Linked DNA regions of Homo sapiens: region 1 is linked to region 2. Evidence: promoter capture Hi-C in 16 types of primary human blood cells and fetal thymus (Javierre and others, 2016). All regions are on one chromosome and are shown on one strand. Each heading gives the region's core, a stretch centred on a gene start or on the middle of the fragment in contact. The rest is flanking DNA. Distances are from core to core; before and after follow the strand shown. Region 1 has its middle 860 kb from the start of FAM41AY1. Region 2 holds the start of UTY (ubiquitously transcribed tetratricopeptide repeat containing, Y-linked).

Region 1 (5,250 bases), core at 748-3,247, 3.2 Mb before region 2:
GAAATTATTTAAAAGCACACTAAGATCATTTTTTAACTGTCAGTTTTGCAATCTTAAATTTTTACTTAACCCTCTGTTGTAAGCTCTGAAGTGTGTGTGATTATAATGAGCTACAAAATTAGCTACGATTCAATTCCTAACAAGGTCAATTGGTAAATATCTAAGAATATTACAAGTGTGCCTATACTTGACCCAGAAATCTTACACTAGAAAATTATCCTACTGATACATACACACTTTTATGAAACATAAGCACAAAGTTATTTGTAGTTGCATTTTTAAATAGATAATTGGATACACACATAAATTATTTTCCATATGTATGAAGGAAATTGTTGCTCTAAAAATATGGTATTTAGGAATTACTATGTAGCGTCATGATAAGATGGTCAGAATATACTGCTAAGTAAAATAACAAAGGATTAGTAAGTAGAGGACAGAATAAATGTATACGACATGTCTTGTGTGGAATGTGGAAAATGAACATGGGCATTTGTATTTGCTTGAAATTTCACCGAGAATTTTTGGGATGGATTCATAAGACATTAATATATTTAGCTCTACTTGTCTGAGTTGAGGTTTAAGGGAAACAGATGGCACTCTCATGTAAGGATAATTGAGGATGGCTTGATAAAAGGACATGGTGCATACATGTGAGGAAATGAGGAGTGGGAAACTGGATTAGTTACAGCAGGAAGACCTGGTACCCCTATGGGGCCAATGCATGAAACAGTTATTAAATTCTGAACATAGGCTGTGGCTGTCAAAAAAATTTGAAAAGAGGGATTTTAGCTTTGCATAAAAGCCCAGAAAACAGCTTCCGGGAATGGATGACTCAATTTCATACTCTGCCCAATCTTCTGGTATCTACTGGTCAAACTTAAGCAGAAAACAGAGGGTTGGGGAAGTTTCTCAAAGATGGGCCAGGATCCAGACAGAAAAGGATAAAGAGTCAATGTCCAGAAACGAGGCAGGGTGCAGAGGCTCATGTATATAATCTCAGAACTTTGGGAAGCAGGAGGATCACTTGAGGTCAGGAGTTCAAGACCTGCCTGGCCAACATGGTGAAACCCTGTCTCTACTAAAAATACAAAAATTAGCTGGGCATGGTGGCATGTGCCTATAATCCCAACTACTTTGGAGGCTGAGGCAGTAGAATTGCTTGATCCTGAGAGGCAGAGGTTGCAATGAACTGAGATCATGCCACTGTACTTTAGCCTGAGTGACAGAACAAGTTTCTGTCAAAAAAAAAAAAAGAGAAGAAAGAAAGAAAGAAAGAGAAAGAGAAAGAGAAAGAGAAAGAAAGAAAGGAAGAGAGAGGAAGGGAGGGAGGGAGTGAGGGAGGGAAGGAGGGAGGGAGGGAAAAGAACAGAAAAGAAAAGAAAAGAAAAGAAAAAAGAAAAGAAAAGAAAAGAAAAAGTAAAAGAAAAATCTCCAGACACCAGCTGACAGTGCAGCTGGTTCAAGGCATAGGATACAGGATATGGATTCACAAGTAGGAGAGAGGTTTTTCACTATGAAACATTTCAATATCCCTTGATTTTTTGAAGCATTCATTGTATCTCTTACCCAAAAATAATTTGTGATGACTCAAAGAATTCTTGTTTGACAGATTATGTTTGAACTGTTCTTTTATTCACTGTTTATGACAAGTTTTCTTGAAGCTTAATGAGATTCTCATGGAAAATACTTTCCCCGGAACACATACTAATGTGTTGACAGGTTGGACATTTCTAAAGAGGACTTGTCATTCTCTTAACCTGAATTGCCCAAGCCAATGCTGTCTTCAAATGGATTAGTTATCATTTAAGTATATTAAATCTTCCACTGGAAACTACCTTGAAAATCATTTTTAAAAACTGCATTCTTCTTTTCACAATTCTTATTCAATATGCAATGTAAAAGTTTTATTCTCTTCTAGCATTAGCTAACGTATGGTAAAAACTGGATTTATGTTGTCCATTGCAGTGGCTCATGGCTGTAATACTAACACTTTGGGAGGCCAAGGAGGGAGATTGCTTGAATCCAGGAGTTCGAGACCAGCCTGGGCAGCATGGCAAAATCTCACCTCTACACAAAACACAAAAACTAGTCAAGTGTGGTGGTGCATGACTGTAGTCCCAGCAACTTAGGAGGTTGAGGTGGAAGGGTTGTGGTTGCGTGAGCTGGGGAGGCAAAGGCTGCAGTGTGCCAAGATTGCACCGTCATATCCCAGCCTGGGTGGCAGAGTAAAACACTGTATCAAAAAAATAAAATAAATAAAATCAGTAGTAAAGAAGCACTAGAAAAAAATTTTCTTCTAGGTCAAAATACTACACATGAAAGCTTTGTTTGTTACACATTTAAAATGGGTATGTTTTGATAAATTAAGCATTCTAAAACCAACCATTTAATAAAAAGTAGTTTAGTGTAGAAAGTTAATATCCAAAGTGATCCTGCCCTGGACATATTTCACTCCATCCCATAGAATATTTGACCAATTCAGAACCTGAAATAAATATCGAAGCTTTAGATTCTATTCACTAAGCCAGAGTAGTATGTAACATAATTTTGCAAGATTTCATTCAAAAGTGATTTACTGGGAATGGTGACATATTGAGAAAGCAAAGATAAATGAGATAAACATCCATTTTCTGCTGCTACTATCTGAGTGCAGTAGTCATAAAAATGTGTGACAGTGTAATCAAGAATGCTTCCTTTCCTCCATGCTCTGACTAGATGTTATTATAAATACGTAATTCTACAAAATGGACCAATTTATGATATAGAGCCAAAAGCCAATCTCTTTCTAAAGTATTATATTTCCTTTTGTAGAAATCCTTCAAATTATTCAATGTTCAGACTTGACAGGGTCTAAATGTTACCACCTAATATGTAATCACATTGACAAATTGCTTTTCACTATTTTATAGGCAGTACTCTGAAAATTATAAATATTGATTCTCATCTGAAGTATTTATACTGAATCACTGAAAGGGAAAAATGAAATGATTCTTGACAAAGATTATGCTATGTTTCCTTAATCAGATTAATTTGAGCATAACAGGTGACTTTTTTACTGTCATGACCCACTGCTTGGTATATTTTAAAAAATCAGTCAAAGCTGGGCACAGCAGCTCATGCCTGTAATCCCAGCACTTTGGGAGGCCTAGGCAGGTGGATCATGAGGTCAGGAGATCGAGACCATCCTGGCTAACATGGTTAAACCCTATCTCTATTAAAAATACAAAAAATTAGCAAAATTAGCTGGATGTGGTGGCAGGCACCTATAGTCCCAGCTACTAGGGAGGCTGAGGCAGGAGAATGGCATGAACCCTGGAGGGAGAGCTTGCAATGAGCCAAGATCCTGCCACTACACTCCAACTTTGGAGACAGAGCGAGACTGTCTCAAAAAAAAAAAAAAAAAAACCATCAAATACATGTAATTTAATCAGGTATGATTTTGTAAACAGTTACAAAAAGGCAAAAGAGGGAAACATATAAATCAATGCATTAAAAATAGTCTCACACAGCATATTTCATGATAATGAGAGAAGAATGAAAGAGATCCTCCCACATTGTTATGTATTGTTTTATACTCAGTACCTGTTTTAAGAAGAAACAAGGAAGTGAAACTAAAGGCAAGCAGCCCAGTGCCAGGCACCAGACCCAAAACCAGGCCTGAGCCTGCCTGACATTAGCTTGATAGTTAAAATTCAACCCATGACCTAGCAACCGATGTTATCCGTACATTCCAGACATTGTATGGAAGGACATTGTGAAACTTCCCTTTCTGTTCTGTTTCACTCTGACAACCGGTGCATGAAACCCCTGTCACATACTCCCTAGATGGCTCAATCAATCATGACACTTTCATGTAAAATCTTTAGTATTGTGAGCCCTTAAAAGGGACAGAATTTGTGCACTCAAGAAGCTCGGATTTTGAGATGTTAGTCTGCTGATGCTTCCAGCTGACTAAAGCCACTTCCTCCACTCCCTCAGTGTCTGTGAGGTTTTGTCTGCAGCTCATCCTGCTACATTTCTTGTTTCCCTGATCAGGAAGCGAGGTAACTGACGGACGGCTGAGGCATCCCCTTAGGCAGCTTAGGCCTGCTCTATGGAGCATCCCTGTGGGAGACTCTGGCCTGCCTTAGTGACGTGATCCAAAGAGTGATCCCAGGTAGGCAATTGCCCTGGTGGAATGCCTTGCCAGAGCAGCATGTGCCAGGCCCACATGGAGGATCAACGCAGTGGCTGAACACAAGGGAGGAACTGGCACTTGGAGTGCAGACATCTGAAACTTGGTAAGACTAGTCTTTGAAACTTGCCCACTCTATTTGAGTGGAAGCATGGCCTGATCACCCACAGTGTGTCTGTATTGACACTATTGTTCTGGTTTTGACTTTACCTGAATTGCTTGATACTTGGTTTTGGTTTTGACTTGGGCTAATACTCTGATTTTGGTTTGGTATGAATGATAAAGGTGTGTGCGTGCCCTCTTTACCTGTTCTTTGTTATGTGGTGAGTGTGTGGTGTGGGCGTGGTATTTTGTCTTGAGAAAACCTGGGCCAGGTGCAAAGTAAGCCCACCCTGTTGGGAACTATGTTAAAGAATTTCAAGAAAGGATTCAAGGGAGACTATGGAGTCGCTATGACTCCAGGAAAACTTAGAACTTTGTGTGAAATAGATTGGCCAGAATTAGAGGTATGCTGGCCATCAGAAAGAAGCCTGGACAGGTCTCTTGTTTCAAAGGTATGGCAAAAGTAACTGGCAAGACAGGACACCAAGATCAGTTCCCATATATAGATTTCTGGTTACAGCTAGTTTTAGATCCCCTGCAGTGGTTAAGGGGACAGGCAGCAGCAGTACTAGTAGCAGAGGGACAGTTAGTTAAGGAAGGTTCTCGTTCCACCTGAAGAGGAAAGCCATCCCCTAAAGTTTTGTCTGACCCAGAGCCTGAAGACTTGTGGCAGGAGATGGCACAAACAGTGCCCCCTGCCTTACAGCAAAGAGACCCCTACTCCTCAGCCCACAGCCCCTAGGCCACTCAGAGTAGACAAGAAAGGAAGTGAAGCTGCAGGAGAAACTCCTCCTTTGCCTGCCCATTTATGGCCCAAGAATAGAATCTAAATGCCCCTGAGAGAACAGCAATACACTGGGGTAGATGAGGATGGATACATGGTGGAGAGGTGTGCCTTCGTATATCACCCTTTCACCTCTGCTGACCTCTTCATTGGAAAAATAATACTCCATCTTAACACTGAAAAGCCT
Region 2 (5,401 bases), core at 1,528-4,027:
GACAAATTATACACTACAAAGGGTACAAATAATAAGCCTTTTATCAGTATACATATTTTTGTATCTTTTGTAGTTACATTTTATAAACCAGGTAAGATCCAAAAAGTTACATAGAATGTAAGGCCTTAATGTTATATACTGTCTGATTTATAATCTGCCAAATGTACATGAAGGTATGAGGATGGATGCAGCTTTGTATTTACATTCGATATATAATGTTGGGTTAGAGATTAGCTAATTTTTCCAAGGTACAGCCTGTACAGAGCCAGAATTCAAATTCATTCTTTACTGCAATTTCTGTCCCACCTCTATGTTGCTCTATCACTTTGTAATAATTACCTGCCTCAAGTGAGACAGGTAGGCCTTATTCCTGGAAAAGGCCATATTCTACATTATTTGAATGTCTGCTTGTGCAAATGTATGCATATTATCAAAAACCTCTTGGTGTGATGGCCACCACTATGACAATTAATATACTTACTAATATACTTATGACAATTAATATAACATTTTCAATAGTACAGCTACTGAAAATATTCTGTGGTGTAGCGATTCAACTGAAATGGAATGAGTAAAGAACATGATAGACTATAATCTATAAAATCAGAGTTAGTTGTTAGTTTCAAAATAACAATGAAAACACGTGTTACTGAGCAAAATCAGCTGGGATTTCCAAAACTCTCACTAGTGTTATAGTTTTTTGTCTGGAAGTTCTAAACTGTCCTCTCATTTAAACATCAAAGTTTAAATATATAATACCTATTTTTGGAGGAGGCAAATCTATTACTTAAAAAAAGATACCATTTCTTCACTTATAAAGGAACATTTCCCCTAATGCCATTAATAATTAACATTTTTGTAATATCTAATATCTGGAGGTATAACCAGTAAACTATTTGATACATGGAATATTATGCAATTTGTCTTTTGAAAACAGTAATCAACAGAGGCGTTTAATATATATGAGACTTTTTATAGATTCTTTACATAGAAAAATATACACAATTCCTCAACATACATATGCCATATAATATGAGAAAAAAAAATTAATCTTGGGATCCCAAAATCACTAAGTAACGGAAAAGTCAAGCTGGGAACTATGTCACTAAACTTGCCTCCCATTTTATTCCTAAATAAGATACGTACAAAGATAAGAAGCTACATACGTTCCTCACAACGTGCCCACAAGGAAATTCCTTGTGGACAAAGGACAGACCCAACTCAAAGTTATCCCTGTGAGGCGCACAAGAGACAACTGCATATCTGATTGCTTCCTCTGCCTTATTATTTATTTATGTAAAAATACAGAGTTACTAGCCGGACTAAATTCTGTATTCAGTAGGAGGCTGATCAAGGACTCAAAAGCATGCAAACTCTTGTCTCTTATCTACATTTTTTTTTTTTTTTTTTTTTTTGAGACGGAGTTTTGCTCTTGTTGCCCAGGCTGGAATGCAATGGTGCCATCTCGGCTCACCGCAACCTCCGCCTCTTGGGTTCAAGCGATTCGCCTGCCTCAGTCTTCAGAGTAGCTGAGATTACAGGCATGCGCCACCATGCTCTGTTAATTTTGTATTTTTAGTAGAGACGGGGTTTTTCCATGTTGGTGACGCTGGTCTGAAACTCCCAACGTTAGGTCATCTGCCCGCCTCGGCCTCCCAAAGTGCTGGGATTACTGGCGTAAACCACAGCGCCCGACCTGTCTCTTATCTATTTCTAACATGGAAGCCCCCGCTTCGAGCTGTCCCTCTTACCTGACCGAACCAATCATGTTTCCCTAAAACGTACAAAAGCAAGCTGTGCCCTGACCACCTTGGGCAAATGTATCATGGGTAAGTCTTGCAAAATAAACTTTTTAAATTGACTAAGACCTCTCTCAGATATTTGGGGTTCAGAAATAAATTCTTTTACCTATTATTTATAATTTTGGTTACAATTGAGAAAGTAAGAAAAAAGTGGTGTTTTTTTCTTTTCTAAGGGTTACTGCATCTTGAAAGTGTGATGAAGGTCTTAATTATTGTTCTTATAATTCCTGTCCACAGAAGCTCCTACTCTTACTGAGACCTCACGGAATTATCATTATCACAATAGAAATAAACATTTTGGGTTTGTGGAGTAACTTTTTTTTTTTTTTTTTTTTTTGCTCATCGTTTGTTGTTTAGATAATATCATGAACTGATAAATGCAGTTGCCACGTTGATTCCCTAGGGCCTGGCTTACCGACTGAGGTCATAAGATATTATGCCTTCTCTTTAGACTTGGTCAGTGGAGAGGAAATGGGCAAAGAACCAGCCTATGGAGGTGACAAGGCCTTAGGGCCAAAAGTCTTGAGGGTGAAGGTTTAGGGCCTGCGCAGCTTCCCTGCCATGCCCCGCAAGGTCTCGCATTCGCAAGGCTTGTGACAGTGGGAGCCTCATTACGGACTCTCCTAAAGTCCATGGTGTCCTCTTTTCGCATTTGCGCCCCGTGGGTGATGCCCGATGCCGCCCTTCCCATCGCTCTCTTCCCCTTCAAGCGTATCGCAACTGCAAAAACACCCAGCACAGACACTCCATTTTCTATCTTAATGCATTTAACTAGCACAACCTACAGGTTGTTCCATCCCAGAGACTACCCTTTTCTCCATAGACGTGACCATCAACCAACCAGCGGTCAGAATCAGTCAGCCTCTGTCATGTTCCTAGGTCCTTGGCGAACTGGCTGGGCGGGGTCCCAGCAGCCTAGGAGTACAGTGGAGCAATGCCTGACGTAAGTCAACAAAGATCACGTGAGACGAATCAGTCGCCTAGATTGGCTACAACTAAGTGGTTGGGAGCGGGGAGGTCGCGGCGGCTGCGTGGGGTTCGCCCGTGACACAATTACAACTTTGTGCTGGTGCTGGCAAAGTTTGTGATTTTAAGAAATTCTGCTGTGCTCTCCAGCACTGCGAGCTTCTGCCTTCCCTGTAGTTTCCCAGATGTGATCCAGGTAGCCGAGTTCCGCTGCCCGTGCTTCGGTAGCTTAAGTCTTTGCCTCAGCTTTTTTCCTTGCAGCCGCTGAGGAGGCGATAAAATTGGCGTCACAGTCTCAAGCAGCGATTGAAGGCGTCTTTTCAACTACTCGATTAAGGTTGGGTATCGTCGTGGGACTTGGAAATTTGTTGTTTCCATGAAATCCTGCGCAGTGTCGCTCACTACCGCCGCTGTTGCCTTCGGTGATGAGGCAAAGAAAATGGCGGAAGGAAAAGCGAGCCGCGAGAGTGAAGAGGAGTCTGTTAGCCTGACAGTCGAGGAAAGGGAGGCGCTTGGTGGCATGGACAGGTACGCACCTCCATCACCCGCCTGGTTGGCTGGCGATACTCTCCGGGAAGGCCTGGACGCAGCTTGCCCACGTTGATGACGGGGTCATCCTCAGCTTGGCACTCACCAATCTGTCGCTGTCGCTCTTGGACTCGGGAAGGAGCAAGTCACTGGCTTTCTCAGACCATTAACAAGCTCTGTGTCTCTCTCTCTACAGCCGTCTCTTCGGGTTCGTGAGGCTTCATGAAGATGGCGCCAGAACGAAGACCCTACTAGGCAAGGTAAAAGCAACCAGACGCAAAGTCTTTGGTCCGCACTTTGCTCTACCAAGGCCCCGCGTTCCTTACCGCCCAGCCAGTATTTATTTTGGCTCTGCTCCATGGCCAAGGGGTCGGAAAAGTGTTTCTTGCCTTTGCTGTCCCCGTACTCTGGAATACTTCGCCCCTTGCTCCAGACTCCCTTCTACTCTGAGGAAAAAAAAAATCGGACGCTTTGGGACCGGGCTAAACCGGGTCTACACCACATGCCTGTTACTTTAGGGCCTTTTGTTCCTGAATTTTAGCGTCACAAATAGTGAATGTGTACAGTTTTCAAAATTCATAACTTCCTGCTTCTTCCCCTCGCCTTTTGGTATTTGGCTCTTGGTGTCTAATTTTAAACATTTTTTTGCCTTTTTAAAAAAAATATCCCTGGTGTCCTAAGTGTAAGTAGCAAGTAAGTTACAGCGGTGAAGAGTTTGCAGTAGATATTTGACCTATAAACTGATGCGTGTATGTTTAGCCTGAAGTTTAGTGATTTGTTGACTTTTTTAGGATGCACAGTGCTGCAAATGTGATTTCATGAATGTGTGTGCTTTTTCCATTCAGGAACCTTGTTTCTTAGGTGTCATGCTCACAGTGGGAAGAATTTGTTGTTTGTGTGAAAAGTTGGCACTGTCGTTTAGTTAATGGCTGCTCCTATCAGCCAAGATGGCGGGTAAAAAGGGGGAGGAGCAATAAAGGGGGAAGCTTGGGAAGAGGGTGGAGGTATTAACCCGGAAACCTTAGCAAGGAATAGACCGTAAAGAGCGCTGACGTAGCTTCATGTTGCTTATTAAAAATTATTATTATTTAAAAGTAGAATTCTTGCGTTATCTCCAACATTGACAGCAGCATTTTTAAACCTATATGTGCTTATTAATTGCAGCATGTTTAGTTACTCCCACGTGAATTGTTGCGTAACTTGGCCCTGGAATATTCCTGTGTGTATCGTTTTTTACCCTCTCACCAAAATCTTGTTAAAGTATTTGTATGTTGTCAATTGGTCCCGTGAAATAAGAACGGTACAACAATCGCGCCATCTTTTAGATGCTGAAGCCAGTAGTTAAGAATTTCAGTTTATTATTGTATTTGACAAGGAAATACTAATTATTTTCTCAGGATGAACATTTTACTTACCAAGACGTTTTACTTTGTAGTTTAATTCAGTACAGACGCTGAGTTCTTTTACCTATAATCTCCTTTGTATGTTTGTTTTGGGGGCAAATACTGATCAGAAAACTAAAATGTAATATATATATGTATGTATAATGTGTATATATATAGTTAGTAAATCCACTTTATTTGACTGATAAATGAAACATGAGTTAAACTTTGATTATGCAAGTGAAAATAGCTTTATGAAAAACATGTTATAGTATCAATGATACGATTTAAGCAACAGTGACTCGATCTGCCTTAATGTTTAAAATAGTTATGATAATGAAATAAAAGTAATTTGATGTTTTCTGGGATAATGTGGGAAAATACTGGTTGAGAACTTTAAATCTTCATATGCTGGAGTTAGGATAAATTCTCAGTGGGTTGTGGTTAACATTTTAGTTTGGAATGAACTTTTCAGATAGACAATATGGGGTTTAAATTTTAAGGAATTTTTTTTTCACATATTGATCCTTTCCAATTTTGATTACAGTAACATTTTAAATATGAGAAAGTGGTTTCATTATGTTTGGGGAGAACTGTAGCTTCATAAAACACTGAGTAATGCCGTATATTAAACTGCAGTGACTTTTTTGAAATGAAAAAAATATTAACTCAATTTCACTTCATTTGGCTCAGGATTCTGAAGGCTGGGAAGTCCAGGATCAA

The links. Contacts are between HindIII fragments. The CHiCAGO score rates a contact against its expected background, and 5 or more counts as called.
Region 1: a contact is called between a fragment that was not itself captured here and the fragment with the promoter of UTY in region 2, in 2 of 17 cell types (naive B cells and total B cells). The highest score is 8.2, in naive B cells.

Annotation. Positions count from the first base shown.
Region 1 is chrY:16,643,077-16,648,326 of GRCh38, reverse strand. No RefSeq gene overlaps it. Among named protein-coding and RNA genes, the nearest start is that of FAM41AY1, 860 kb to the left of the region's middle. The HindIII fragment of the contact is 661 bases long and covers 1,667-2,327 here.
Region 2 is chrY:13,477,409-13,482,809 of GRCh38, reverse strand. It overlaps UTY (ubiquitously transcribed tetratricopeptide repeat containing, Y-linked), which reads left to right and starts at 2,777. Exons shown (of 30, transcript NM_001258249.2): 1 at 2,777-3,296; 2 at 3,493-3,556. The coding sequence starts at 3,145. It overlaps MIR12120 (microRNA 12120), which reads right to left and starts at 3,633; the gene lies at 3,544-3,633. The HindIII fragment of the contact is 7,265 bases long and covers 1-4,284 here.